Linked DNA regions of Homo sapiens: regions 2, 3, 4, 5 and 6 are each linked to region 1. Evidence: promoter capture Hi-C in 16 types of primary human blood cells and fetal thymus (Javierre and others, 2016). All regions are on one chromosome and are shown on one strand. Each heading gives the region's core, a stretch centred on a gene start or on the middle of the fragment in contact. The rest is flanking DNA. Distances are from core to core; before and after follow the strand shown.

What was found. The method cuts DNA at HindIII sites, captures the fragments that hold promoters and counts their contacts. A CHiCAGO score of 5 or more calls a contact.
Region 2: a fragment that was not itself captured here is called in contact with the fragment with the promoter of OR5I1 in region 1 in 4 of 17 cell types (M1 macrophages, M0 macrophages, M2 macrophages and 1 more); the score reaches 8.5 in M1 macrophages.
Region 3: a contact is called between a fragment that was not itself captured here and the fragment with the promoter of OR5I1 in region 1, in 1 of 17 cell types (erythroblasts). The highest score is 5.2, in erythroblasts.
Region 4: a contact is called between a fragment that was not itself captured here and the fragment with the promoter of OR5I1 in region 1, in 2 of 17 cell types (M2 macrophages and endothelial precursors). The highest score is 8.0, in M2 macrophages.
Region 5: a contact is called between the fragment with the promoter of OR5AP2 here and the fragment with the promoter of OR5I1 in region 1, in 2 of 17 cell types (erythroblasts and megakaryocytes). The highest score is 5.9, in erythroblasts.
Region 6: a fragment that was not itself captured here is called in contact with the fragment with the promoter of OR5I1 in region 1 in 1 of 17 cell types (endothelial precursors); the score reaches 5.7 in endothelial precursors.

The regions. Positions count from the first base shown.
Region 1 is chr11:55,934,135-55,939,091 of GRCh38, reverse strand. It overlaps OR5I1 (olfactory receptor family 5 subfamily I member 1), which reads left to right and starts at 2,692. Exons shown (of 1, transcript NM_006637.1): 1 at 2,692-3,636. The coding sequence starts at 2,692. The coding sequence ends at 3,636. The HindIII fragment of the contact is 3,136 bases long and covers 2,123-4,957 here.
Region 2 is chr11:56,764,946-56,769,902 of GRCh38, reverse strand. No RefSeq gene overlaps it. Among named protein-coding and RNA genes, the nearest start is that of OR9G4, 19 kb to the right of the region's middle. The HindIII fragment of the contact is 440 bases long and covers 2,305-2,744 here.
Region 3 is chr11:56,741,048-56,746,004 of GRCh38, reverse strand. OR9G4 (olfactory receptor family 9 subfamily G member 4) reads left to right here. Exons shown (of 2, transcript NM_001005284.2): 2 at 2,217-4,782. The coding sequence starts at 2,239. The coding sequence ends at 3,177. MIR6128 (microRNA 6128) reads right to left here and starts at 2,132; the gene lies at 2,024-2,132. It also overlaps the pseudogene OR9G3P. The HindIII fragment of the contact is 816 bases long and covers 1,313-2,128 here.
Region 4 is chr11:56,720,390-56,725,346 of GRCh38, reverse strand. No RefSeq gene overlaps it. Among named protein-coding and RNA genes, the nearest start is that of MIR6128, 21 kb to the left of the region's middle. The HindIII fragment of the contact is 389 bases long and covers 2,538-2,926 here.
Region 5 is chr11:56,639,614-56,644,570 of GRCh38, reverse strand. It overlaps OR5AP2 (olfactory receptor family 5 subfamily AP member 2), which reads left to right and starts at 2,132. Exons shown (of 1, transcript NM_001002925.1): 1 at 2,132-3,082. The coding sequence starts at 2,132. The coding sequence ends at 3,082. The HindIII fragment of the contact is 8,469 bases long and covers 1-3,353 here.
Region 6 is chr11:56,620,954-56,625,910 of GRCh38, reverse strand. No RefSeq gene overlaps it. Among named protein-coding and RNA genes, the nearest start is that of OR5M1, 8.6 kb to the right of the region's middle. RefSeq lists an enhancer at 535-1,214. The HindIII fragment of the contact is 723 bases long and covers 1,980-2,702 here.

The DNA.
Region 1 (4,957 bases), core at 1,443-3,942:
TGCAACAGTTCCTTCCTCAGTAAGTAGCTTCTGCGGTTATTGGACTGGCTTTAATCGTGCAAAAAAAAAAAAAATCAACTTTTGTTGGTCTGAGAGCAAGAACCACTGATTTGAGTACAAATAGTTTTGAAAGTACATTTATCATTCAATATTGTACTGACAAGGTAATCTATCTTTTATCACCCTTTCTGATATAGCTTCCACAGGGTCTAAAATGTCTTTTGTTTAAATAAGCCTTTTGTTACTGATAGGAGAACCAAAGCATATCTACCTACCTTATAACTTGAATTAACTTATTTTATAACATAAGATTGTTTTGTTATGTTTGGAAAGAACTTATTGAATCATAGTATGTTAGTAAGATTTATTTGTTAATTCCCTTTTAAAAAGAAGAATCCAAGAATCACTGTCTTTTCCTACCACTATCCTCATGCCTCTTCTCTTCCTTTTAATATTTCTCTAAATAGAATTTTTTGACTATCAGAAGGAATGACCAATGTGAAGTTGCCAAGAATACATGCCCCACATTTTTGGGAAGTATGCGAACCATAGAATGGTCATACTGTTAATATTCTCCCCGTCCTCATGCTTGCTTTCATGGGCTTTGATTTCATACACCCCTGAGTTTGAATTGCACTGGTCAACTACATGTTGAATGACCTTGAGATACTATCCTAAGCATTAATGTTCTCATCCAAAATATGGAGCTAATAAAAAGAATCCTGTTTATAGAGAACCAGTGTATCATGTGGCTTTGGAGTCAGAATTTTGGGTTCTAATCCTGTTTCCATCACATCCTAAATCTCAAATTCTCTCTTTCTTAGTTTCCTTCATCTGTAAGAAAAAGATCATAATGATAGTAACTCCATGGTAATTTTGTTAGTTTTTTGGTGACAATTAAATGAGTTATAGGTGAAGTGTTAAGAATATTGCATTACACATAGTAAGCATTATACAGGTGACAATTATTGTTAGTAAAATTTGACAGGTAGCTCTAGTCATAATCTAAGAATAAAATGGCAGCGTGGCAATCAAAACTAATTTTTGATGTTATCTACTGTATGTCAGTCTCCCTAAAGAATGACACATGGAAAGATAAGTAGGTAGATAAAGGGACAGAAAGGGGGGGCAGAACATTTTCCCTATTTAATCCATACAGAAACACTATGAGATATTTATTATCATTGTTGTAGTATAGATTAGGATAATTTATATTAAGTGGCACAAGGTCACACAGCCCCCATGCAGCCAAGATGGGCATCTAATCAAATTCCTCCTAAATCGAAGTGATGTCTTATATTGTCTAAATACCTTGACTATTTTCAAACAAGCAAAATGAGAATAACCACTGTCCTGCTGTAGTGCTGCATCTCATTCACACGCTTTGAGGTGATAACATAAGGCAGCACTTTGAGCACGTGATTAACCCTTCTGATTATCAATAGGCTTCTCAGTGTTTATGTCATTGGGTAGTTTTATTGCTTACATGAGATAAATAAATTGTCTTTAGCACTGTCATTGTCATAATATCTATTATGTAAATGAGGCAGTGACTCAAATATTTTTAATTCCCATCTTGGCCCTCTCAACATGAACTTTAGAGATTGATGCTTTGCTTGCTTTTTTTTGTTGTTGTTTTGTTTTTTACGTATTTCCAAGTCTATCCTTCATGGTCAAAATCAAATTATTTGTACTTCAAAGTCAAGTTAAAAATTTTTATAATTCTGTAAGTATTTTGAGACCTCAGAAGCAGTGTTTAACAGATTTTTCTGACTCAACACTTTGTATTATACTACCATAACAATAAATGCAACAATTGTTCTTTACTTATAAAATTTAATCAGTGATGATGCCATATATAGTAATGTTATTTAATTGCAAGTTAACATATAACTAAATGTTTTGCTGACTGTACTTGGTCAGTCCACTAATGTTTAATGAGCATTTCCAGGAAGCCAAGGAGTTCGATAAATGCCAGAAGTATTGAAACAAGTAGTTAACTAATTTTATCAGCTTAGTTTAGTATGTGAACAGGGTTTATGGAATTACACTAAGCTCTTTTCTGTCAAAAATATCCTCAGAGCTGGTATTTACTGACATTTGTTTTTATTTCGCTAAAGCTTCTGCTTTACAGTAAAAAAAAAATTAGCCGGCATATTTCATCACACCACTCTATTTACTCAGTCAAGAGACACAGCATACCGGTATCTATCAAATCCTGAAAACAAGAAGCAGATGTTCTAAAATTCTTATTCAAAGGAACACTCTATAAGTCAGTCCATTTTTAATAATATACATATTTTCTTTACTTAATGTGATCATCAGTCTGTTCATTAATTTATTACTTTTTTAATACTCTGGGCCAGTAATTGTTTAATATTTTGGGTGCAAAATGGTAAGCCAAATCAGACATGATCCATGCACATAGGAAGTCAACTGTTCAATGGAAGAAATAGTAATCAAATAAAATATAACCTGCAACCATGAAATATGATATTACTAAATTCTGAAATATATTTCTCAGAGTTTATAGTTCAAAAAAGTTTGAGCTTGCTTTCTTTATCTTATTGCCATTTATTTATTTTTAAACAATAAAATAACTTTATAATTACATCTAATTATTTTTCTTTTTTCATCATTATAGCATTGTAGGGTATTAGAAATTCTCATAAAAGGAAAACAACACAGAAGATGGAATTTACAGATAGAAACTACACGTTGGTCACTGAGTTTATTCTATTAGGTTTTCCAACTCGCCCTGAACTGCAGATTGTCCTGTTCCTCATGTTTCTGACATTGTATGCTATAATTCTGATAGGGAACATTGGATTGATGCTGTTGATCAGGATTGATCCTCACCTTCAAACCCCCATGTATTTTTTCCTTAGCAACCTATCATTTGTAGACCTTTGCTATTTCTCAGACATTGTTCCCAAAATGCTGGTCAATTTCCTCTCGGAGAACAAATCTATTTCCTATTATGGGTGTGCCCTGCAGTTTTATTTTTTCTGTACTTTTGCAGATACAGAATCCTTCATCCTGGCCGCCATGGCCTATGATCGCTATGTCGCCATCTGTAACCCTTTATTGTACACAGTTGTGATGTCTAGGGGCATCTGTATGCGGTTGATTGTCTTGTCATACCTTGGAGGCAACATGAGTTCCCTGGTTCACACATCCTTTGCCTTTATTCTGAAATATTGTGACAAAAATGTTATTAATCATTTTTTCTGTGACCTCCCTCCCCTGCTTAAACTATCCTGCACTGACACAACAATTAATGAGTGGCTCCTCTCCACATACGGCAGCTCAGTGGAAATCATTTGTTTTATCATCATCATCATCTCCTACTTTTTCATTCTTCTCTCAGTCTTAAAGATCCGCTCTTTCAGTGGGAGGAAGAAGACCTTTTCTACATGCGCCTCTCACCTGACTTCAGTGACGATCTACCAAGGGACTCTCCTCTTTATTTACTCACGGCCCAGCTACCTGTATTCTCCAAACACTGATAAAATTATCTCAGTGTTCTACACCATTTTCATTCCAGTGCTGAATCCGTTGATTTATAGTTTGAGAAATAAAGATGTAAAGGATGCAGCTGAGAAAGTTCTAAGATCAAAGGTAGATTCTTCATGAGATAAAGCATCTCAAGATACATCTAATTTCTCAATCACATACTGTAATTGGGAACTTACAACAACCTTACCTGTACACACACACAACCTCTCACACTAGGGATTTTATCAAGCACTTTGTTTAATGCAGCCAAATGAATTTCATAGTCCTAAAATATTTTTAAAATCATTTAAAAGTTTCAAAGTTCCTGCTAAATGCTAGTTATACTACTTTTCAGTTATTACTAGCTTGAGATTTATGCTAAAATCAATTTCATCAAGCCATCTTAAGGGATATAGTAAATATTTCAGAAAAGTATGCATGCATGTACATGTGCGTATCTATCTGTAGAATATCTCAGTTATAAGTGTAGATTACTGGATAACTGGATAAGAAAATAAGTCAGATTGCTTTGATTTATATGCCAGATCTATACTTGGCTAGTGAGTGGCATATTGAATGAGTTGCTTAATTTTTCTATGCCTCATTTATCTGTAAAATGGGATGAATATTGCACATATGCTATTGATTGTTTGATGGTGAACAGAGTTAATACAGTTAAGAGCTGAGAATAGTGCCTGGACATTATATACACTTACATGTTTGTTATAAGATATGTTTTTATAATATCTCACACTAATTAAAATGCATGTAATAAAATAAGATGATAGAGGCTAGAATGTTAGAAAAGCAATCATAAAAAGCCAAATAATATTTTTTAAAATGCAGGTGATAACATGTTGATAACTTTCTACATCCAATGTATCATAAAGCAATTTGGAAACATTTTCTTAGTGGCTTGAGCAATATAGGTTAATTGCAATGCAAAATATTTGTTTTACTATCTCTTGTTTTTAAATACACCAATGTGTTACTGAATGTGAGGAACGTTCTTTGCTGGAATCTCAGAAAAAGAATACTATCTCTAATTTATTACACTATCGTAATTGTATCCTCATAGGGAGATCAATCCAGTACTGTGGTAGAAAACCATGCATGAAATGTGTGTTTGAAAATTCTAATTGAAGGATGTGTAGAAGTATGTGTATTATTACAAAATGTATTTCTGTAACTAATATTGTGTGCTGCAAATCATTATTATGTATGATAACTGTTTACAAGCTATGAAATGGAAATATGAAAGTTTACAGTTATGCAAGCATGTATCATTTTATTTCATTTCACAGATATTGTTTTTTTCTTCACAAATTAAAAGTTCAGGACCACACTGTGTTAAGCAAGTCTACTGGCACCAGTTTTCCAACATTATGTTCTCATATCATGTCTCTGTGTCACATTTTGGTAATTCTTACAATGTCTCAATCTTTACATTATTATTTTA
Region 2 (4,957 bases), core at 1,275-3,774, 830 kb before region 1:
GCATAGAAAGTGTTTCCAGAACTATGGCATTAAATAAATCTGTTTATATTGATGGAACCAGTGTTATTTGACAATGGAACCTTTTGTCTGAGTTATAGGCAGAAGTTCTGTCCCAGGATTACAGTTTGAAAAACAATGTTATGTAGGGAAAGAAAGAACACGATAGGAATGTAAATCTTTCCTGTCACTTAAGGTAAAATAAATTGAGTTTTGAGAAGTGATAGAGAGAAGCTTTACCACTTAAAAATAGATCTTTAAAATTTTTGTTTCTTAAAGAAAAGGAATGAGAAGGGCATGAGGAAGAAAGAATTTAGTCAATATTTGCTCTGAAAAATGACTCAGATAACCAATGGTAAAGATAAGCATAATACTAGCAAAACATATGGGGGTACTGGTGTATTTTCTAGGCTTAAAAGGGGTGTAGAAAAAACATGCTAGATAGGTTTGACCATATATCATAAAACTTCCATGGTCAAAAAATTAAAAATCAATTTAAAATGTGGGAAAATATTTGTAGAAAATACATACCTGGAAGTTTTCTTACTATTTTTGCAAAGGGCTCATAGATATATGAGAACAGTTCTGACTAAAATGTCCAGAGAAAATGCTTAAACCAAACATTGGAAAATATCTCACAGCTTGGTAAGTAAAATGCACTTTGTTCTTGTAAATGGCAAAATAAATTTGTAAATATCTATCAAGAGGCTTTAAAATGCTTCTGTAGTTGGACTCAGTAATTTCATTACAAATAACTTGTCCAATGGAAAGAACTCCAAATGGGGAGTAAGATGGGGTGGCACCTCTTATTCAGGGACGTGTTTGTTGCTGAGTCTGTGCATAACCCAAGCATCCCCTGGATATTTTAGCTTATAGCTTAAAATGACATGCTTTTTCCTTTAATGTCAAATTATAATAGACTCCAGTTCTCATTCTTCTGGGCTGCAAGAAATGCAACTGTACCAGTGTCTCTTCTCCATGGAGTTCAGGGTATTCCAGGGGAAACAATGAGTGCTGGTGCTCTCCTGCCTCCTTGATTGCCTCTGGCTGCTTCTGCTCCACTGACAGGCTCCAGGACTAATTGCTGCAAGTTTCTTCTGCTTCCCTGCTGTGGCTAGTCTTCCCTCTGCCATTTCTTCCCAAACCTGCAAACCAGCCTATCTTATCCAGAGCCACCCACAGCATAGTTGAGGCCAGTCTGCAACTTCTAATGAGTCTTTATTAAAGACTGGGTATAATAAGAGAAAAACATGTAATTCTGGGAACATTTTGGAGCTATGACATGGCTTACCCTGAGCCTACAGGTAGATTGCTCCATGGGCTTCAGAAAGACAAGTCTCATCAGAACAAAGGAGTCAATTCATAGATTATTTTGCCAAAGGTTTAGTGATTTAGTCTTGAACAACATTACGTGTGGGTCTCCACAGTCAAGTCTTGGTTGAGTTCAGCCAAACTGTACAGTCTTGTCTTCATTTAAAGGTGCTTCCTGTAGAGTTTCAAACCATAATTTTTAAATAAGAATCTAATTCAAGGAGAACACAATGAATTGGCCACAATTTAGAGGGATATTGCTATCTAAATTCTTTCTTACAAAAGAATCATTTCTCCCAATCGCTATCTTTCAAACATGTCCCACAGAAGGAAATATAGAAAGACCCAGTAGAGTCATACAAATATACAACTGGAAGAAGAGTTCCACAAAATATACTTAGTTTTACTCCTTCAATACACTTTAAATATTCTGCTTCAGAAATCAGCAGACTATGATTTGTGTATCAAATCCAGCTTGACACCTGTGTTTGTACAACTTGCAAGTCAGGAATGGTTTTTACATTCTTAAATGATTGGAAACAGTCAAAAGGAGAATATTTTATGACTCATGAAAATTATTTGTAATTTAGATTTTAGCATCCATAAAAAAAGTTTTGCTGGAACACAACCATCTTTATATTAGAATCTCTCAACAACAGTTCTACTGACATTTTGGCCTGGATAACTCTTAATTGTGGGGATATCCTTTGCATTGTAAGACATTTAACCACATTCTGCCCTCTGCATTAGATGCCTTTAACACCCCTCATTCCAGGTGTGATAACCAAAAATGTATCCACATGTAAGGTAATAATATATAAACCACAACTACTGATTTATGAATAGTCCTTGGATGCTTTGGGACTACAAGGGCAGTGTGGGGTTCCTCTATTTTTCCCATTTTTTCTTTGTCTTGACCAAAAAATATGGAGTATCTTGATTGCTCTTGTGACCTTACCAGCTCCATGTTTTTCCCTGCATACTTGAACTCAAGCTTGGACATTTCCAGGCACTGATACACTTGTTTAGGTTGTTGTCTCAGATACGAAAAGAAACTAGCCCTGGTCCTGAGATGAATTCTTTAAACTGTCCTATAAATTCCATAACCCAACACATTCATTGGGCATATGCCCAGCAGAACCTCCCTTTCTCTTGCCATCTGTCATGAGGATTGCTGCAGCACTTTGTAAATTTCTCTAATAAATGCTTTGGATGGATCACCCTGGTGTTTAGTGTTTCTATCTTTGGAATCCCAATTGGCCCCATCTTGGGAGGGTTTTGGGCACTCCTTTTTGAGACCTCCCCTGCAGTCACTTTTGGGGTTACTCTAGCCTCAGGTTTGGATGGATGAAACAAATAGAGCTGAGTAGTTGTCACATAAACAGTATGCCAGCAAAGCCTAAAATGCTTTCTATATGGGCCTTTATAGAAAAGCTTGACAACCATGTTTTATGTATTTATTGTATCGCATTCCTTTAAATAATGCTAGTCATAACCTACTAAGATGATTTCATTTCCCGGTAATAGAACTCAAACTGCAGCTTGAGAAATTCTATTTCTATGTAGCTTTAGAGAGACAGTATACTAAGTATTGGATAAGAGCATGTGCCTTAGAGCCACATATATCAAATCTTGACTGTGCTACTTGATAGCTGTGTGGAGATGGGCAGATTACTTAACCTCTCTGAGCTTCCATAACCTCCTATGTAGAGAGAAGGTGATAATAATAGTAGTTAAGCAGTTAATTTTTGTAAAAGGTCTAGCACAGTGCTTTGGTACATAATGAGCACTAGTGGTTTGCTATTATTATTGGTGCTTAACATATTTCATGTTATGGTAAAATAATGAAGAGCATTTTTAATATATGAACATAACACTGGAGGAATTAGGAGAGAACTAGGGTGTCTAAATGGAGCTAGTTCAGACATTTCATTAATTTTAACATATAATGTAACAAAAAATATAAAATATAAAATGATTAGGAAGATGATTTTATTTATCTATTTTTTATTTATTTTATTTTATTATTATTTTTTTAAGACAGAGTTTCGCTCTTGTGGCCCAGGCTGGAGTGCAATGGCACAATCTTGGCTCACTGCAACCTCCACCTCCTGGGTTCAAGTGATTCTGCTGCCTCAGCCTCCCGAATAGCTGGGATTACAGGCGCCTGCCACCTGTAATTTTTTTATTTTTAGTATAGGCAGGGTTTCAGCATGTTGGCCAGACTGGTCTCGAGCTCCTGACCCCAGGTGATCTGCCCACCTTGGCCTCCCAAAGTGCTGGGATTACGGGCATGAGCCACTGCACCCGATCAGATGATTTTAATTCATATACAAATTAGAAACAAATTTTCTCCAATTTTTGAAGGAGAAATTTGAGTTTTCTTCCATAAGTACAACAGTTTTTACCTTAGGTTTTATGATTGAAATGACTATGAACAATTCTGGATGAATAATTTTTAATCACAATTTGAAAATTAAGTTTTATGGAATTCAAATTTTTAAGGGAGCTGAAACTCAACTTAAAGAAATGATATTTAAAGCTGTTCTTCACTTATCTTGACTGTGTTATTTCACAATGTATAGGCATATAAAAATATCAAGTTGTACACAATAAATATGTATGATCTTTAGTTTATATGTATTTAATGTGTCTAAAATAAAAACAATCTTCATTTTCTCTTTTTGATAAATGAAAGTTGAGATTTCTTGTTATAATGAAAATGGATTTAAAATGCAATCTAATGCTTACATATTATGTATTTAAAAATCAGATGAATGTCTAATTTGCTGAATGTTCACTAGTTGTTAGTCATGCTGCAGCCTAGACATCAGTAAAGTGACACATCAGAAGAAAGGTACAAACATATCTAATAACAATGAAGATGAATTTGGGAGTCCAGGTGGAGCTGCATTTGCCAGGAGACACTATCAGCTCCACCTATCAACCAATTTTTGCCTGGCTGTATCTCCACCGACACTCGGAACATGTACATGTCCTGCAGCGTCATGGTCCCTTATCACAATGGGGCCATCGGGGTAATTGCTTTTCTGCAACATGCACATTGTAGCAAAGCAGAGAGCAGAGCCATGGATGCTGGATTAGCCTCTATGGGGACCATCAGCTCAGCATCAGACCTTCTCTGTTGTCTTTCTGGAGTGCCTGAGGAAGCTGCCACGGCCAGAGCTTTCCACACCAGGTGGCCAGCTGCTCCATTTTAGTTCCGATATTTCTTGGGGCACCTATAATTTGTATGCTGATGGAAAGCTCTTTTTGTTCATCACTATTCCTCTAGCAGAATGCCTGCTACGGAGTAGGCACTTAGTAAGATTTGTTGAGCGAATGTTTATAAACTGGCCAGTATCTTACATGACCATATTCATCCTTATCTCAAAAGAAAATCTTTGATTTCTCTTTGTGTGGTTAAAAAGCTGACTCACATTCATAGCAGCATTGTTTGTCATAGCTAAAATGTAGAAACAATGCAAATATCCATTCAGGGATGAGTAGATAAAAAATGTAATACTATATATGTGCAATGGAATAGTGTTCAGTCTTAAGAAGAAATTCAGACACATATTCCACAACACGGATAAACTTTAAAAACACTGTACCAAGTGAAATAAACCAGACACAAAAGAAGAAATAT
Region 3 (4,957 bases), core at 471-2,970, 810 kb before region 1:
TTGTATTTTAAGGACACAAGAATGTGTATGCAAATCTTGAGATGAAAAGAAGGGTGCAGTTGTCTTCAGCAAATTTTATTTCTCACTTCAACCAAGACAGTGGTAATGTCCTGTGTATCCCAAGATACGTGTGTATGTAAGGACTGTTAATCTGCTCTGCCACACTGTATTGCAACAAGTGAGGCTATCTATTGTTTCATGAAAGTTTTTCCTTCTTTTTTTTTTTTTGTTTTGAGACAGCGTATCTCTCTGTCACCCTTGCTGGAGTGCAATGGTGCAATCTCAGCTCACTGCAACCTCTGCCTCCTGGGTTCAAGCGATTCTCCTGCCTCAGCCTCCCAAGTAGCTGGGATTACAGCCGTGTACCACCACGCCTGGCTGATTTTTAGTAGAGACAGGATTTTGCTATGTTGGTCAGGCTGGTTCTGAACTCCTGGCCTTGAGTGATCCTCCTGCCTCAGCCTCCTAAAGTGCTGGGATTACAGGTGTGAGCCACCGCACCTGGCACGTAACAATTTCTATAAGAGATTTTAGCAAATTGGAATCATGGAAGTTTGGTGCTGAGAATAGGATCAACCAAAATTTTCAGATGGGTGAATTGTGTTCCTGAGATGAGGTATTACTTTCCTAAATCATACAGTGATTAGTGTCAGGGATATGTACCAAATATTGGACCCCACAATCCTAAACCCTATAACTCCTTTGCCAAGTTACATGGAAATAGTTGACAAAAATATTAAATTCTAGGATTTTAGCAAGATACTGGACGATACCACTATTCTGGCTGAAATTGCTTATTTGTATAAACTTAGTCTATTTATTTATGTTTTGCAAGCTCAGAATTTATAATTAAGTTAGATAATTATCCTCCCATTCAGAATAATGATAGTTAAAATTTTGTAGATTGATGTTCTGTCCAGAAAATGGGCTGTTTTCTTAACATGGATGTTTTCTCGCCCTTTTGGAGGTAAATACACGTAGGTGGGGAATTGTTAAGATACTTTTCCAAGATTATGGAACTACCAAGTAAGAAGGTCTGGGTTTGAACTCAGATGCCATATCACTTGGGCAATTCTGCCTATGCCAGACCTGTCTTTTCTCACCTGGGCGTGCTCATGTCTGTGGGTAGCTCTTAGCGCCACTGTAGGCTGGATCATATAGAAGGGCCCCACCTGCATGTTTGGGGGACAACTTGCAGTCAGCTGGGGTGACAGAGTGAGCGCAGCCAGATGTCTTATCCAGCAAACTAACCCAGGCTTATTTACATGGTGGTGGTAGGATTTTAAAAGTGAGAAGAGAAACATAAAAAGCTTCTTGAAATCCAGGCTTTGAATCCACATGGAGCTGCCTATCTTTCAATCTATTGGCCAAAGCAAACCACCAAGCCATCCAAGACTCAAGGGGTTAGGTATAAGACTTAGAATAGTAACTGGTACATGGTCATAATGTATTTATATTTGTAATATAAATAGCAACTTTAATAATCTAATACTTAACAATACAAATACTTGACACGTAAGAAGTTTTCAATAACTTATAGAAAGATAGTGAAATTTTTTGAGTGCCCACTAATGTACCCAATATTGGGCTGTGTTATTTTTATGTATGTTTTATTTATTCAATCAGACAGTCTGTCAAGAAGTTACTAGTCGGCCAGGTGCGATGGCTCACGCCTGTAATCCCAGCACTTTGGGAGGCTGAGGCGGGTGGATCACCTAAGGTCAGGAGTTTGAGACGAGCATGGCCAACATGGTAAAACACCATTTTTAGTAGAGTTGGTGTGGTGGTAGGTGCCCGTAATCCCAGCTACTCAGGAGGCTGAGGCAGGAGAATTGCTTGAACCTAGGAGGCAGAAGTTGCAGTGAATGGAGATCACGCCACTGTATTCCAGCATGGGTGACAGAGTGAGATTCCATCTCAAAAAAAAAAGAAGAAGTAATTAGTTATCCTTGTGAGTTTCATTTTTTTTTCATGTTTGATGAGAATATGGGTCTTGTCCTGCATTAAATAGTTAATAAATAAAATTCCTAATTTTCAAATTATTTTTGACTCCAATTCCAGTAATTTTTCCAAATCATGGACTGAAGTCCTATAATTCTAGATAGTAAGGGAGAAAAATCTACAAGCTTCTTAGTAATTGTTGATTTAATTGATACCCTTGTCAACTTGTGTGAATAGAAAAAACACTAAGTGATGATTTTCCCTTCTCATGATAGTCAGGCTTTCACCTCCGTGGACATGGAAGTGGGAAATTGCACCATCCTGACTGAATTCATCTTGTTGGGTTTCTCAGCAGATTCCCAGTGGCAGCCGATTCTATTTGGAGTGTTTCTGATGCTCTATTTGATAACCTTGTCAGGAAACATGACCTTGGTTATCTTAATCCGAACTGATTCCCACTTGCATACACCTATGTACTTTTTCATTGGCAATCTGTCTTTTTTGGATTTCTGGTATACCTCTGTGTATACCCCCAAAATCCTGGCCAGTTGTGTCTCAGAAGATAAGCGCATTTCCTTGGCTGGATGTGGGGCTCAGCTGTTTTTTTCCTGTGTTGTAGCCTACACTGAATGCTATCTCCTGGCAGCCATGGCATATGACCGCCATGCAGCAATTTGTAACCCATTGCTTTATTCAGGTACCATGTCCACCGCCCTCTGTACTGGGCTTGTTGCTGGCTCCTACATAGGAGGATTTTTGAATGCCATAGCCCATACTGCCAATACATTCCGCCTGCATTTTTGTGGTAAAAATATCATTGACCACTTTTTCTGTGATGCACCACCATTGGTAAAAATGTCCTGTACAAACACCAGGGTCTACGAAAAAGTCCTGCTTGGTGTGGTGGGCTTCACAGTACTCTCCAGCATTCTTGCTATCCTGATTTCCTATGTCAACATCCTCCTGGCTATCCTGAGAATCCACTCAGCTTCAGGAAGACACAAGGCATTCTCCACCTGTGCTTCCCACCTCATCTCAGTCATGCTCTTCTATGGATCATTGTTGTTTATGTATTCAAGGCCTAGTTCCACCTACTCCCTAGAGAGGGACAAAGTAGCTGCTCTGTTCTACACCGTGATCAACCCACTGCTCAACCCTCTCATCTATAGCCTGAGAAACAAAGATATCAAAGAGGCCTTCAGGAAAGCAACACAGACTATACAACCACAAACATGAAGGTTATTCTCTTTGCAAATGCTGTTATTGAATTTTCCAGATTATTGGCTTATAAATGTGTTCATTTGCATTTCTGTAGTTCAATTAAGTTCAATAAGTCATATTTAAAACATTAAAATATTGACCACATGACTCCTTGTTATTCGTTTGTTATGATGTAAACAAAACAAAGTAATATTTAAAACTTATAATATTGGGTTGTTTGGCATTCTGCAATATGGTATTTTGCCTTGGCAGCATTAAATCTTTCATAGATTTCATTGTGTTTGCTCCCTTTGGGAGATCTTGGGGAACAAAATAAATTACGTGGGTTAATGAATATAGTTTGACTTTGAAGTTTGGTAAGCAATCTTTACTAGGTGACAAGAATATCTGAAAGGGTGAGGCTTCTGGAAATATGCTCAAGATTTTACAAATATTTATTTTAAGAAAATCATTTCCTCAAAATTTCTTCAGAAAGCTCTAATTGAGCATATAGGGAGTATCTTTGTAAAACTCATGCCTTCTACATAAAGAGAATATTAGGAAGATGTTTAAGAGTTGTTCAGATTACAAACAACAATGACAACAAAAAACTATCTCAAAATTAATGAATAAATATGTGTCTTTAGAATTGCATATCATCCTAACAGTCTTCTCTCTTACAAGGAGTGAGTACTCCGCAGTACTCTCTCTCAGGTCACACAGCGATGTGACAACATCAAACGAAATAAAACAAATGAACAACAATAGTAACCACTGTTCCCTAGTTACCTTTCTCTTTCCTTTGTCCTGACCAAAAGACATAAGCTGCATGTTTGTCCCTGGCCTGAACCTAGCCTGGGCCTTGAACATTCCTAAGAACTGGTAAACTTGTTTAGATCGATGCCTGAAACCCTGAAAAATCAAACATGTTGCTAACCACATGGAAACTAGCCTTGGCCTCGAGCCCAATTCCCTAAACCCTGATATAAACTCCATAACTGAACCCCCTTGTGATGGCAGGTTGGGTTGATATTTCATTTAGTAGCCTTTAGAAGATGGCAAGTTAAGGATTAATGGTTACAATTTTCAAATCACAAGCTTGCAGCTCAGAGGTTAGCAACTTTGTTGAGGAAAGGTTATAACATTTGCTGGAATTAGCACATTTAAAAAATTAATTAAATTTTGAAAATTTAGGACAAATAGTTGTAGCCATTTCATTTGTCTTTACTTGACATTTCTCAACTTTCTCTTCAGCTGCATTTATTTTCCAACACATCCTACCTCTTTCCATCAAAATAATCTTAACATTCTTATTCCTCTATCACAAAGGAAGCTGTTTGAGTACTTGACTAGAAGGATTTGGGGTGTATCCCGCAAATATCAATGATCCATATTATGTTTTCTTTTCATCTCCATAATAGTCACTATGTAGGAAAAATAATTGGGTCAATATTATGGGAAAGAACATCGTAAAAATTTAATTTCACTTTAGGATATCAGAATAATTACTTTTCCATTTTGCATTAATCGGAGATACTGAATTTTAAAAACTGTATCAGTATTCAATTGAATCTACAATACTGTAGTATATATTATAGTCTGATCTCAAAATCATAACAAACAAACGAAACACAAAGAAACACAATTTTTCTTGTTGAATTTTGTTCAATGGTAAAAAAGAAATAAAAATCCAGTTCTGTAACCTCTCTGAGCAGTTTGTCATCACTTAGCATTGATTTGAGAACATTATGGCAATTCAGACTTTGGATTATGCTGACTTGAAGAATTTTTTCAGAGCGTCTTTCATGTCTTTATT
Region 4 (4,957 bases), core at 1,483-3,982, 790 kb before region 1:
TAGTTCAACCATTGTGGAAGTCAGTGTGGCGATTCCTCAGGGATCTAGAACTAGAAATACCATTTGACCCAGCCATCCCATTACTGGGTATATAACCAAAGGACTATAAATCATGCTGCTATAAAGACACATGCACACGTATGTTTATTGCGGCATTATTCACAATAGCAAAGACTTGGAACCAACCCAAATGTCCAACAATGATAGACTGGATTAAGAAAATGTGGCACATATACACCATGGAATACTATGCAGCCATAGAAAAGGATGAGTTCATGTCCTTTGTAGGCACATGGATGAAATTGGAAATCATCATTCTCAGTAAACTATCGCAAGAACAAAAAACCAAACACCGCATATTCTCACTCATAGGTGGGAATTGAACAATGAGATCTCATGGACACAGGAAGAGGAATATCACATTCTGGGGACTGTTGTGGGGTGGGGGGAGGGATAGCATTGGGAGGTATACCTAATGCTAGATGACGAGTTAGTGGGTGCAGCGCACCAGCATTGCACATGTATACATATGTAACTAACCTGCACAATGTGCACATGTACCCTAAAACTTAAAGTATAATTAAAAAAAAAATAAATAAGACAGTGGCACACTAGCACAATAAAGAACAGTGCTGGCAAAAAAAAAAAAAAAGAAATTAACAAATGTAAAGATTTGCTGCATAAAGTTATAAATTTTATTCTTTTTAATTTTAAAGTTATAAATTTTATTCTTTTTAATTTTAAAGTCATAAATTTTATTCTTTTTAATTTTAAAGTTACAAATTTTATAAGATGATCTATAAACAGATCTACATTTGAATCCTAATGGCAACAATTTCTATAATAGGGACCTTGGAAAACTCATTTAAATTGCTTTAATTTTATTTCTTATCTATTAAATGGGATAATAATTTCCTCATATGATGGTAGAAAAATAATGTGCTTAGTTTATCGTAACTAATGATGTTACAGTGTTGTAAAGCAATGGATTGCTTTTTTTTTTTTTTTTTTTTGAGACAGAGTCTCGCTCTGTTGCCCAGTCTGGAGTGCAGTGGTGCGATCTCGGCAGCTCACTGAGACCTCTGCCTCCCAGGCTCAAGTGACTCTCCTGCATCAGCCTCCCCAGTAGCTGGGATTACAGGCATGTGCCACCACACTCGGCTACTTTTTTTGTATTTTTAGTAGAGACAAGGTTTAACCATGATGGCCAGGTTGGTCTCAAACTGCTGACCTCAAGTGATCTGCCTGCTTCAGCCTTCCAAAATGCTGGGATGGATTGTTTTTTTATGTAAAATATTTCAATGTATTAAATTTTTATATATTATCACCTACTGACAGTTTGATGTACTTTCTTCTCCTATCAGCATTCTCTTCTCCATCCCATCACCAGTAGCCTTTGCTCAATAGTTCACAGGTCTAACTATTCTTAGGGAGCCCAGGGTGATGCTCTTTCCCTTTGACTCTTCCATCCCTTCGTTCACATATTTTGCTCTGAGGTTCATTACTCAGAAAAGATAATTGAGTTTTATTGAGCTCAGCTACCTCTGAGACTGTTAAGAAAAGTATATAATTCTTCTCACTGGAAAAAACAATGCTCATAATACACCCTGGGACACACACACACACACACACACAAAAAAATGGTAAAACACACATTTCCTTTGTGTTTCCCTGGATACTTACTTATGTACACTGGTAGAGAGGATGGTTTGACAAGCCAACATCTGTATTTCTTAATCAGAACAAGAAGACTATAATAGCTGGCAGGAAGTACTAACCAGCTAACATACTATCCTTCCTAACTAATATTATATTTTTATATTAAAAGCTAAAAGTGCATTCTTCATCCAAAATTATTAAAATACAACTTTTTGTATTTAGAGATATGCTTCTATTGTTAGAGGTTTCCTTAAAATTACCATATGCCTTCACACTTTCTTAAAGAATATCAAACTTTAAAAGCAACATGTTAAGCTTTTCTTGATGTCTTTTGGCCGTTAGACTGATAATATCTTCTATTTAATTCTTTCTTCTCATTCTTGCTCTTGAGATATTAACAAGACTATCTCTTTTGTTAGTGGCTCCTAATCGTTGCCTGTTTGTGCATTTGTTTTTTTTTCTTCCCTTGCAATTTTCTGTGTTGTTAATTGCTCTTTTTTTTGAATCTAATAGTGTGAAATTCTACTTCTGTGTGTGAGCTGCCAGCAGTTTTAGAAATTAAAACAGGAAGATGATGAATATATTTCAAAACAGGGGCAGTGGCTCACACCTGCAATCCCAGCACTTTGGGAGGCTGAGTGTAGGAGTTCAAAACGAGACTGGGTGACAAGGTGAAATCTTGTTTCTACAAAAAATAAAAAAAAAAAATTAGCCAGATGTGATAGGGTGTACCTGTAGTCCATGCTCCTCCAGAAGCTGAGGTGGGAAGATTGCTTGATCTTGGGAGATTGAGGTTGCAGTGAGCCATGAAGGCACCTCCACTGCACTCCAGCCTGGGCAACAGAGTGAGACTCTGTCTCAAGAAAAAAAGAAAAGCTTTCTTTAGCACTTATCATATATTACTATGTAAATGGTTATTGGACTGGTTATGAGGAAGAAGAAAAATTTTCCATCTACATTTAACATTTGAATTAAGCAACTTACCTAAAATTCTCAGCAACACCATCATCTCAATAGAATTTAAGTTTGCCTTTCCCAGATTCTTTTATGTCAGAGTATGAATTCCCAGGGTTACGGATTCCTGAAACCCCTCAGGGTTTCACAATTTGGAGAATAGCTAACAAGGCAATTAAACTAAATTTTGTATTGATGAATTGGGGATTATTACTGAGAAAGGAGGAAAAATTTTGGAGACTATGATTCCCTTGTGAAAAATGTAATTAGTTATAATTTTTATTCTCATTCTCCCTTGAGTTGTGCAGAAGCTTAACTATAATATGTATACACATATATTATGTGTGTTATTAATATTCATATGTTTATATTTGCATATTAAAACACATACGAACTTCCTTACTAATATTTCTGTTGTATGTTGGATGTATCTCATTTTTCCCTCCAAATCCATTCTCCATCCTTCTAAACTCCTTTTTTTGCTCCAGGATGTTCACCTGTATTAATTTGCATCAGTGGGATCTTTGCTTACTATTTAATAGCTTTACCCAATGGTTATCAATGGCAGGGAGGACAGTGAAGGCAGAGAGTTTCCCCCAGGCTCCTTATCTACAGACATGGCACAACTGGTGTATCCATGGCCTTAGACCATAGCTACTAACAGGTGACCCTTTTTCAAAACTCTTTCTTCAGTGCCCATAACCTCTCTCTCTTCTTGTATGATTAAGGATAGAGGTGGTAACAGTGCTCAGAAGTTATTAGTTCTAGGGTGTATTAGTAAGCGTTCTCCAGAGAGACAGAACCAATAGGAGATAGAGAGATAGATAGATAGATAGATAGATAGATAGATAGATAGATAGATAGACAGACATAGAGGTTTACAAGAGGGGGTTTATTAGGAAAATTGGCTCACGTGATTAAGGAGGCTGAGAAGTCCGACAAAAGGCAGACTATATACCGGAGACCCTAGAATTCCAGTAGTGTGGTTCAGTCCAAGTTCAAAGGGCTGAGAACCCAAGAGGCTTGTGGTGTAAATCCTGGAGTTAAAAAGCTAAACAGCCTGGAGTTCTGATATCCAAGGACAGGAGGAGGAGTATATCCCAGCTCCAGAATAGAGACAAACCAATTCACATGTCCTCTGTTTTTATTCTCTCTGGGCCCCCAGTTGATTGGATGGTGTCAACCTGCATTAATTGCAGATCTTCCTCATTTAATCCATTCCATTTCACATGCCAATTTTCTCTGGAAACACCCTCACAGACATACCTTAAAATGATGATTTATTATTTCTCTAGGTATGCCTTAATCCAGTCAAGTTGATACCTAAAATTAACCATTAAATAGGCTTATTCCCAGAATTTCCTTGGAATTACCTACATCACAAATGTTTCTTTGTAGTAATCCCTTTATTAAACCCTGCTCAAATGAACCAATTTTAATGGCCATCTTTACTTGCAAGATTTGTGACTACCACTGGTCCTAGAAGTAGTCCAAGAAGATAAATATTCACAAGGGATTGGGTTGTTTACGTATTTGAAGATTAGGTGGAGAAATATGTGATGGAAGAAATGAGACATTAATAATGTATGAAATCCTGTGACATCAAATTTACATAAATGATCACCAGTGGCATCAAAGTATGAAGGGCAGATCAAGGGCAAGGTATTGAGAGATAAATTTACTGTGACAAAGGCATGAATATAGTGATTATAAATCTTATGTGGTGAGCTGGATTTGCTGAAATTAAAATCTGTTACCATCCAACTGAAAAAACAAACAGGAAGTCAAAATGATTCTTATCTTCTGTAGTCCTTGGGAAAATATAGTGAAAAACAAGTGCTATGGGCCAGGCGTGGTGGCACATGCCTGTAATCCCAGTGCTTTGGGAGGACAAGGCAGGAGAATCACTTGAGGCCAGACTAGCCTGGGCAACATAGTGAGACCTTCGTCTCTATAAAAAATAAAAAATTAGCTGCATGTGGTGTGCACCTGTAGTCTCAGCCACTCAGAATGCTGAGCTGAGAGGATCATGTGAGCCTGAGGATGTGAGGCTGCAGTGAGCTATGATTGCACCACATCACTCCAGCCTGAGTGACAGAGCAACACCGTGTCCCCAGAAAAAAAATGCTATGTCCTGATTGCTGGCATTGCAAAGATGTAGCCCAAATAAATGCTTAATGTCGGCAAGTATTTAATGAGAAAGGTGTGATGTCCTGAGACATAGGATTGAGAGCATTTAGGCCGAGAAAGACAAGTGTGAGAATTCTGAACCTCAAATTCTCTTGAGCCTCTTTTTAAAAATGGGTTTTTTCCCCCCAGAACCTGAGAGAACAAGGACTTTCCC
Region 5 (4,957 bases), core at 883-3,382, 710 kb before region 1:
GGGCATTGAGTCCCTATCTCAATGACAATTAGGTGGAGCCCAGCATAAATAGCTGCTTCTGTGTATGGCACTGTCTGTGATAATAGGACCAGTTGCTGCCCACTGTTTCCCTCACTGTTTTCAGAAACTTCTTTATCTTCAATGCTGGCAAGGGTACTGGGTCACTTTGACCCCGTTTGTGTGTGTGTTTTTTCTTTTTTTTTTTTTTGAGACAGAGTCTTGCTCTGTCACCCAGGCTGGAGTGCAGTGGCGCAATCTCGGCTCACTGCAAGCTCCGCCTCCTGGATTCACGCCATTCTCCTGCCTCAGCCTCCTGAGTAGCTGGGACTACAGGCGCCTGCCACCACGCCTGGCTAATTTTTTGTATTTTTAGTAGAGACAGGGTTTCACCGTGTTAGCCAGGATGGTTTCGATTTCCTGACCTCGTGATCCGCCCGCCTCGGCCTCCCAAAGTGCTGGGATTACAGGTGTGAGCCACCGTGCCCGGCCGACCCCATGTTTTAATTTAAACAGTATCAAATAACTTTTTTCTGTGAGTAGCAAAGGATATAACTCTGTCTTACCTTCTGAGCTATATTTTGACAGTTAGCCTAGTAAGTTTAAACTTTTGTTTAATAATCTGAGATCATGGAAGGGGTGGAGGATTTGCGTTAAATTGGAGGAGAATTCCGCTGGTGGTGTTTACATTTTGATTTGGAAGATCTAGTTTGGGCATCTATTCTGAATTTTCTTTTTTATTTCTTTTACTTTTCTTATCCTATGTTTGTCTTCATTACACCTTGCAAAGGGTGACTCTTATTTCCATTTTGATTACTTGGTATTAAATTATTCCCTTGATTAAGTATGGTGGCTGAAAAATTGCATGTGCTACTTCTGATGTTTTCTGGTTCTCTTGAGAACTTGTGAATGTGAGTATTAGAGATTTTCACTGGCTTGGCTACTTCTGCCATTTTTATCGGGGATGCCTACTCATTCTTACAATCTGATTCTCTAAATATTGGAATGAATTGTGGAAAATTACTATTTAACTGACCCTATTCTGTTCTCTGTAGATGTTTATTATGGAAAATCAGAGTGGGGTTCGAACTGTACTGGCTGTGTGGGAATATTCTCTATTTTCTTCTTTGGCCAGGCATTTTTAAGCTCTTCCTCTACCCCAAGAGATTCTGCTGTTTTTCTTTCTTTCTTTCTTTTCTCTTTCTTTCCTTCTCTCTTTCTTTCTTTCCTTTCTTTCTTTTTTCCTTCCTTCCTTCCTTCCTTCCTTCCTTCCTTCCTTCCTTCCTTCCTTCCTTCTCTCTCTCCTTCCTTCCTTCTTTCTTTCTTTCTTTGTTTCCTTCTTTCTTTCTTTCTCTTTTTTTTTTTTTTTTGGCACCGTCTCACTCTACTGCACAGGCTGGAGTGGTGCAGTGGTGCAAACCCAGCTCAGTGCAGCCTCAAACTCCTGGGGTCAAGCAATCCTCCCACCTCAGCCTCCTGAGTAGCTGAGACCACAGGGATGAGCCACCACACATAGCTTTTTTTTTTTTTTTTTTTAAATATTGCAGAGAGGAGATTTTGCCACATTGCCCAGGCTGGTCTTTAACTCTTGAGCTCAAGTGATCTGCCTTGCCTTGGTCTCTCAAAGTACTGGGATTACAGTTGTAAGCCACCAGGCCCAGCCCAACTATTTTTCTTGTCTGGCACTATAGATTAATTTTATTAACTTTCAATATTTTTATTCATTCTATTAGTACTGAGGAGGAATTGTAAGTGTCCTGAATTCATTCTATCATCCTTCTCCAGAAGTTGTGTCTGGAGGGTATGTCAGTATATATAAATTAATTTATTTATCACAAGTAATTATGACAGTCACATCTTAAGAATAAGTTATTTTAATTATTCAATAAAGAGTTAACTGTAGGAATGACCATAGTTAATACACACTAAATCACTTGCTTCAGTCATTAGTAGACAGCACATCTAGTACTACAAGTCTTTTGATTTGGCATCAAATCCAACATACCTTTTATTATGCTTTTCACTTTTTGCTCTTCTGTTAGAAGTTGTTTCACTAAAAATATATTATAGCTCCATCATGTATTCATCTGACTAAATTCCACTGTGCATCTTCTTTCTTATTGCAGCTCAAATGATGAGACTTATGAAAGAGGTTCGAGGCAGAAATCAAACAGAAGTAACAGAATTTCTCCTCTTAGGACTTTCCGACAATCCAGATCTACAAGGAGTCCTCTTTGCATTGTTTCTGTTGATCTATATGGCAAACATGGTGGGCAATTTGGGGATGATTGTATTGATTAAGATTGATCTCTGTCTCCACACCCCCATGTATTTCTTTCTCAGTAGCCTCTCTTTTGTAGATGCCTCTTACTCTTCTTCCGTCACTCCCAAGATGCTGGTGAACCTCATGGCTGAGAATAAGGCCATTTCTTTTCATGGATGTGCTGCCCAGTTCTACTTCTTTGGCTCCTTCCTGGGGACTGAGTGCTTCCTGTTGGCCATGATGGCATATGACCGCTATGCAGCCATTTGGAACCCCCTGCTCTACCCAGTTCTCGTGTCTGGGAGAATTTGCTTTTTGCTAATAGCTACCTCCTTCTTAGCAGGTTGTGGAAATGCAGCCATACATACAGGGATGACTTTTAGGTTGTCCTTTTGTGGTTCTAATAGGATCAACCATTTCTACTGTGACACCCCGCCACTGCTCAAACTCTCTTGCTCTGATACCCACTTCAATGGCATTGTGATCATGGCATTCTCAAGTTTTATTGTCATCAGCTGTGTTATGATTGTCCTCATTTCCTACCTGTGTATCTTCATTGCCGTCTTGAAGATGCCTTCGTTAGAGGGCAGGCACAAAGCCTTCTCCACCTGTGCCTCTTACCTCATGGCTGTCACCATATTCTTTGGAACAATCCTCTTCATGTACTTGCGCCCTACATCTAGCTACTCAATGGAGCAAGACAAGGTTGTCTCTGTCTTTTATACAGTAATAATCCCTGTGCTAAATCCCCTCATCTATAGTTTAAAAAATAAGGATGTAAAAAAGGCCCTAAAGAAGATCTTATGGAAACACATCTTGTAGAGCCATGTTACCCATCATTTGTTACGTAGAAGAAAATACATTTTCATGTTAACTGTATTCTCTGATTGTTTAAGCTGTTTCTCTGTGTTAAAGTAGATAATTTAAAATGAAGTATACTTTTTAATATCCTAGTATCTCATATATATATACACACACACACACGGGTCCCTTTGATGCACCAATACACTAGATGAAGGTTGGGACTGGAAAAAGTATCAAAACACTTGGAATTGGCTAATCTGGACTTAAGTTTTAATTTAAATATTAAGCTTATCTCAGTCTGAGTTTTATTATACAAACATTGGTGTCTTTGGGTTCTGGGCAAACAAACTGAGACAGAGAGATATTTTTAGGCAGAAAGTTTATCAGAGTGTTCTCACAAACAATATATAGTGAGGGGAGCAGGATTGGACAGAAGGAGTTGAATTGTGACGAAGACTGAGCCACTGTTACATGGCGTTCTGCAGAGATGTCCTTCAGAGATGTCCCAAATTAAGAAAAAAGGAACAAGTATTTGTACCTCCACAATAGCCAATTTTTGGACATGATCACCCACTGAGAGGGGGTAATATTATCTTGGACAAGGCAATTCCCTTCAGCAGGGGAAATTCCTGGAGTGTAGGTCAGCTATCAGCTGTCAGTGGCCTATATGCCTGGAAGCTGGGGAAATGAATACTTCAACCTGAGAGGCAAATCTGGGTAGTGTGGGCCGGGCGCGGTGGCTCACGCCTGTAATCCCAGCACTTTGGGAGGCCGAGGCGGGCGGATCACGAGGTCAGGAGATCGAGACCATCCCGGCTAAAACGGTGAAACCCCGTCTCTACTAAAAATACAAAAAATTAGCCGGGCGTAGTGGCGGGCGCCTGTAGTCCCAGCTACTTGGGAGGCTGAGGCAGGAGAATGGCGTGAACCCGGGAGGCGGAGCTTGCAGTGAGCCGAGATCCCGCCACTGCACTCCAGCCTGGGCGACAGAGCGAGACTCCGTCTCAAAAAAAAAAAAAAAAAAAAAAATCTGGGTAGTGTGCCACAGCATTCATAATAAATAATAACACTACTCTACCTACAAGTATGTCAAGAGGTACCAAATCAGATAGATGAATAAGTCTTATCAGGTATTATGATATTGTGGGAACCACAAGAATAATGGGGGAATATTTTACTGACTTTTGAATTAAACTGAATATTTTGTTGGTAGTAATCAATGTACTTCAACGTTTTATCTCTGCTCTTCCTAAAGGTTCACATAATTTTCAATAAATACTTATCAAAGAAAATTGTATCTGTATTGCTTATCATAGTGAGGAGGAAACTCTCAATGTTGGAGCAATGAGACAACAGCCTTCTGTGATGAGATGACATGTTGAAGGAAGTCTGTGTAATGATTTGGAGTTAGGTAAATGTCTAGTTCTAATTTCTTTCTATTCCGCCATCCACTGTAGACCAGGAGGGAGACACCAGTGTTTTCAGTGTTCCAACTGAGACCACCTCATTCTTAAAAAATTCATTGGAGGCTGGGTGTGGTGGCTCACGCCTGTAATCCCAGCACTTTGGGAGGCTGAGGTGGGCGGATCACAAGGTCAGGAGTTCGAGACCAGCCTGGCCAATATGGTGAAACCCCGTCTCTACTAAAAGTACAAAAATTACCTGCGCATGGTGGCAGGTGCCTGTAGTCCCAGCTACTCGGGGGGCTGAGGCAGGATAATAGCTTGAATCCAGGAGGCAGAGGTTGCAGTGAGCCGAGATCACGCCACTGCACTCCAGTCTGGGTAACAGAGCGAGACTCCGTCTCAAATAAATAAATAAATAAATAAATAAATAAATAAAATATTCATTAGAGACCACAAAAGAAGAACTGTTTCCTCCTAACCACCTGCA
Region 6 (4,957 bases), core at 1,092-3,591, 690 kb before region 1:
ACAATGCAGGAGGAAAAAACACAACTTCAAGCCATGCAGAGTATTTTCTGAAAAATTCTGCCAAGTGGGACACATCAGGTGAAAGCTCCATAAATCCATAGCAGTGTTGGCAAAGGACAGAAAAATGTATTCTCTTGGAACAAAATAATGCAAACCTATTTTTCTTTTTCTTTTATGTATTTATTTTTTTTGAGATGAAGTTTCTCTCTTGTTGCCCAGGCTGGAATGCAGCGGCACCATCTCGGGTCACTGCAACCCCTGCCTCCCTGGTTCAAGTGATTCTCCTGCCTCAGCCCCCGAATAGCTGGGATTAAAGGTGCCCACCACCACGCCCAGCTAATTTTTTTTGTTACTTTTGGTAGAGATAAGGTTTCGCTATGTTGGCCCGGCTGGTCTCGAACTCCTGACCTCAGGTGATCCACCCACCTCGGTCTCACCAAATGCTGGGATTACAAGCGTGAGCTCAGACACAGCATTGCCATCATATTCCAATGCAAAACCGAATTGAAGAAACCTAAGAAAAGCTCCTAGAAATGACGATGGAAATGTGTTCACTTTTTTTTTTCCTTCTCACCGTTAACCTTACCCTCATTTTTATCCAATTCTCTTGACACTCTCCTCTTAGTAATAATTGTATTAAGTAATTAAAGACATAGAAGAGTATATTTTCTTGTGCCAAATTCTAAGGCTCTAGTTCTGGAGAAGGTAAACAAGTTAGTGGAAAAATGTATGTTTTTGAATTCCAAGATTTGACTAAAACTCAACTTGTAAGCCTACTCTAAGTCTCAGCTGTGTCATGAATAATGGATCTGTAACTAATGAGAGGGCTATTTGCAGAGCCTGCCTGACCTCCTCGTATATCACTAGTTACCTGTTGTCTTCATCAGAGAGTCTGAGGCCTGTCTGTCTATGGTTTTGTTTTACCATGACAATTCTTATGGCCACTACTAATTTCATTTTATGTTCAAAAGAGGAAATAGGAAATCACACAAATTTCTTATGAGTTCTTGATTCTCAGAACTGTCAGACTTACTTGTGAAGGAATAGTAATTTCTTATCCTACTCAAAAGTCCCCAGTGTGGGAGGATTTATACTGAATGACTAATCTCGGTAGACTCATTCCTGAAGCATTAGATAAGAAACCCACAGGATATCATTAGGGCTCCCTCTGGAGGCGTTTACAAAAGTCACATCATAATGGATAGAATCCTAATTTAGATGTACATAGTATCTTTCAGTAAATGCAAAAACACTTGGTACAGATTTTGATGTTGGGATTAATTCTAGAGCAGATAGAAAGGTGTTCCATTCTTGGTAATCAAAAGACTTTTGCCGTGACTCTGCACATTATATCCTCAGCTAAAATAGTCTTTTGCTTTTCTGAAAACCTTTGTTGGTTTTTTCTGCCACTCTTGCAATATATGCTTTCTTTTATAACTATTCTATTACTCCTATGAATTGTAAATGCTCTGAGGATAAAGCTAACATCAATTTCATCTTGATAATTCCTATGGAAATCTGCACAACACTTTGGGTGTACAGTTAATATTTGGTGAAGGGTTATTGAGTAAATAACTGAACAGTGGTAATTAGTTTAAACAAAATTAGTTCAAGTACACTTACTGCCATGGGCTACTTATACAAAGATATGTATAATTTATGATTGCAGAGATATGTTAATTCATATAATGTTTAATCTTTGGGTCTGAAGTAGATTAACATTTGAAATCAAAGTCCTACTACTTCTGGGTCAGATTCATAATAATACTATTATAAATAAAAATAAAATAATATAATAGTATTATATCTTTCATTAGGGCTAAAACAATCTTCCTCTCCTGCGCTCTAGTACCGTTAATTTTTGACGTTAAAAAATGTAGATTATGACAGAGAGAAAATCCAAACCCAAGTCCTGGTTCTTCGGCCTGGACACACTAATGAATGGAGAGGAACAACAACAACAAAAAAACTTAGAAGCTTTCTCTGAGACAAGCTATCCCAATCTCCCTTGCCCAGGCTTTGGCCCTGAATCAACTTGTTGAGTAGCTAAAGCAAAGTCAACTTTGGGATTAGCTTATTTGGGCAGCTATGATCACAGCTATTTCCACAGTTTCTTCAGTTTCCATGTGGCATAGACAGTACTTAAACTTCCAAACTTCCAGCATGTCCCTAGTAGGTGAACATGCAAATAGCTAAGATTTGATGACCTGGACGTATTGCACCAGTGAAGCTGAGTCCTACACAGCTGACTTCCCAGGCCATTTCCGAATGGATATAAGGGGCAGACCTAAGGGAGGTCTGTAAGTCTTTAAAACCAAGGTGCAACTGGGTCATCAGGGAAGATAAGAAGGCTATGGCTATATTCAGCCAAGAGAGTGAAATGACTCTGAGGTACATTTATCATGGTGGATGACAGCAAAGCAAAACTGTCACCAGGCAGATTAGAGGTCAAGAAAGACCGGAGAGCAGCAACTGGATGCATTTCTAGGCCTCCCTTCCTTACCAATAGAGGCCTCGCAAGTTACAGAACGGAAAAAGGGATTAAAATTTTAATGACTGGATATTTACCTAAAGAGAAAGACAAACCAAAAGAGTTATTTCAATCATTGACCATTTTAAGTCCAAAGCTGCTTTGTAAAAGAAAGCCATAGATCACAAGTTCATGTAACATGTAATTGGGTCCTGACATATAGACACAAGCTTTTGCAACAATTAAAGTTTTGTTCACTATAAGTCTTTTTTGGAAAAGAGAGAGAAACATTCAAATTATTTACATACCAGTTTCCATTAGCATGTGAAGAACAAACAGAAACACTTTTCAGGGTGAACAAAATTCCTGCTACAGTTATAAAATCCTGCATATACTCTTTACTTTGTGATTCTGAAAAACACCGTTCTACCTGGTTTATTGAAATGTGTGAAAGCTCTAATGCAATGTTATTTTTTACATTTTGTAACACTTAAGTCATAAAGCCAAGCTATTCTCAAACCTTGATGAAACATGTTGGAAGAAATTATGTTTTAGTGTTTGGTGAAAACATTATGTTTCGTCACTTAAGGTGATAAATTGTACTCATTAAAGAACTTTGAAAGTTCACACACAGCCAATGGTTTAAAATGCACTAATTTAGATTCCCAATTCTCACAAAGGCCAGTTACTCTGGACCATTCAATCGCCAAAGAGGAAAACTGGGGGCATTCCCATCCCGGGATATGGGAAGTCCCCGAGCTTCCAGCCTGGTCCTTGTGGCCGAAAAATGGCATGTTTTGCTTTTGCTTTTGGATCCTGTTCGTGCCGCCAAAAATGTTCTGTGTGGGGAAAGTGCGAGGGGAGAGAAAAGACACGGACATGATACGTTTAAGGGTAAACAACGTTTATCCCATGTAAGTGGCCATGCAGATATAGTAAGCAAATGATATAATAATAAGCAAATGATATAATAAGCAGATTGATATAATAAGTAGATTGCAATGGAACGGGGAAAAGGGAAAATACATCTACATTCACCAGACTATGGAGGATTCAACAACAGACTGGGACGCAACAGCCTGGGCTCCAGAGTCAGATAGGTAGGCAAAGAGATCCTAGTTCTATACAGATACGTACCATGGAGCAGTTCCACTTTCCTAAGCACATTCAGTTGTGATAAAAATAGATGAGTTTCAAGGGCTGATACATTACATGCCACACTCAAAGTTGTGTTGTTAAACAAAGAATTACAATTTCAAATAAAAGCAATGTTTACAACCATGGGTTCAAGAGAAGTCTAAGTGAACACATATAATAAAGACTTGCAAAATAATAAAAGATAAGGCTCTTTAACTATCAAAAGACTTGCAGAAAAGAACCACAGAAAACCATTTTAAATATAACTGCCTTCGTATGTAAGAAATTCTACATTATTTTTGATGTTAAAACATCAATCTCATGCTTACTAGGCTATTTCTTAATGACACATGTATTTACAAATTTGAGAGAAGAGGAAGAAATATCAGGTGACACCACTGGGTTAATGCATAAATGACAAACCTAAATGCATTTTAATTTCCTTTTCTTTAAATCGAGCTGAGCTTCAGCCCCTTCTTTTTGTGGTGTTCTTAGTCATCTACCTTATCACAGTAATCACAATGTAAGCATGATCTTCTTTTTTTTTTTTAAGTGCACAATATTTTTAACTGTTAACAATATACCTATTGTTACCTATGGGCACAATGATATACAGCATATCTCTAGAATTTATTCTTGCAAAACTATAACTTTATACCTGCTGAACAGCAACACCCCATTTCTCCCTTTCCTCCAGCCGCTGCAACCACCTTCTATTCTCTGTTTCTATGAGTTTGACTATTTTGGATTCCTCATATAAATTTAATCATGCAGTATTTGTCCTTCCGTGCCTGGCTTATTTCACTTAACATAATGTCCTCCAGGTTCATCATATGACAGGATTTCTTCTTTTTCTTAATGATGAATAATATTCCATTACATGTGTGTACTACATTTTCTTCATCTTTCAATGGACATTTAGGTTGTTTCTATATCTGGACTATTGTAAATAATGGTGCAATGAACATAAGAGTACCTATGTCTCTTCAAGAGCTTGATTTAAATTCTTTTGGATATATGCCCAGAAGTGCAATTGCTGGTTTATATGATAATTCGATTTTTAATTATTTGAAGACTCATCATACTGTTTTTTATAGTGGCTGCACAATTTTATATTCCCACCAATGTTGTACAAGGGTTCCAATTTCTTCATATGTCACCAATATTTGTTGTCTTTTGGATTTTTTTAAAATAAAGTAACAGCCATCATAACAAATGTGATATCATGCTTTTGTTTCATATGCATTTTCCTGATGATTAGTGTGTTGAGCACCTTTTCATTTTTATTTATTTATTTATTTATACTCTAAGTTCTGGGATACATCTGCAGAACACGCAGGTTTGTTACAT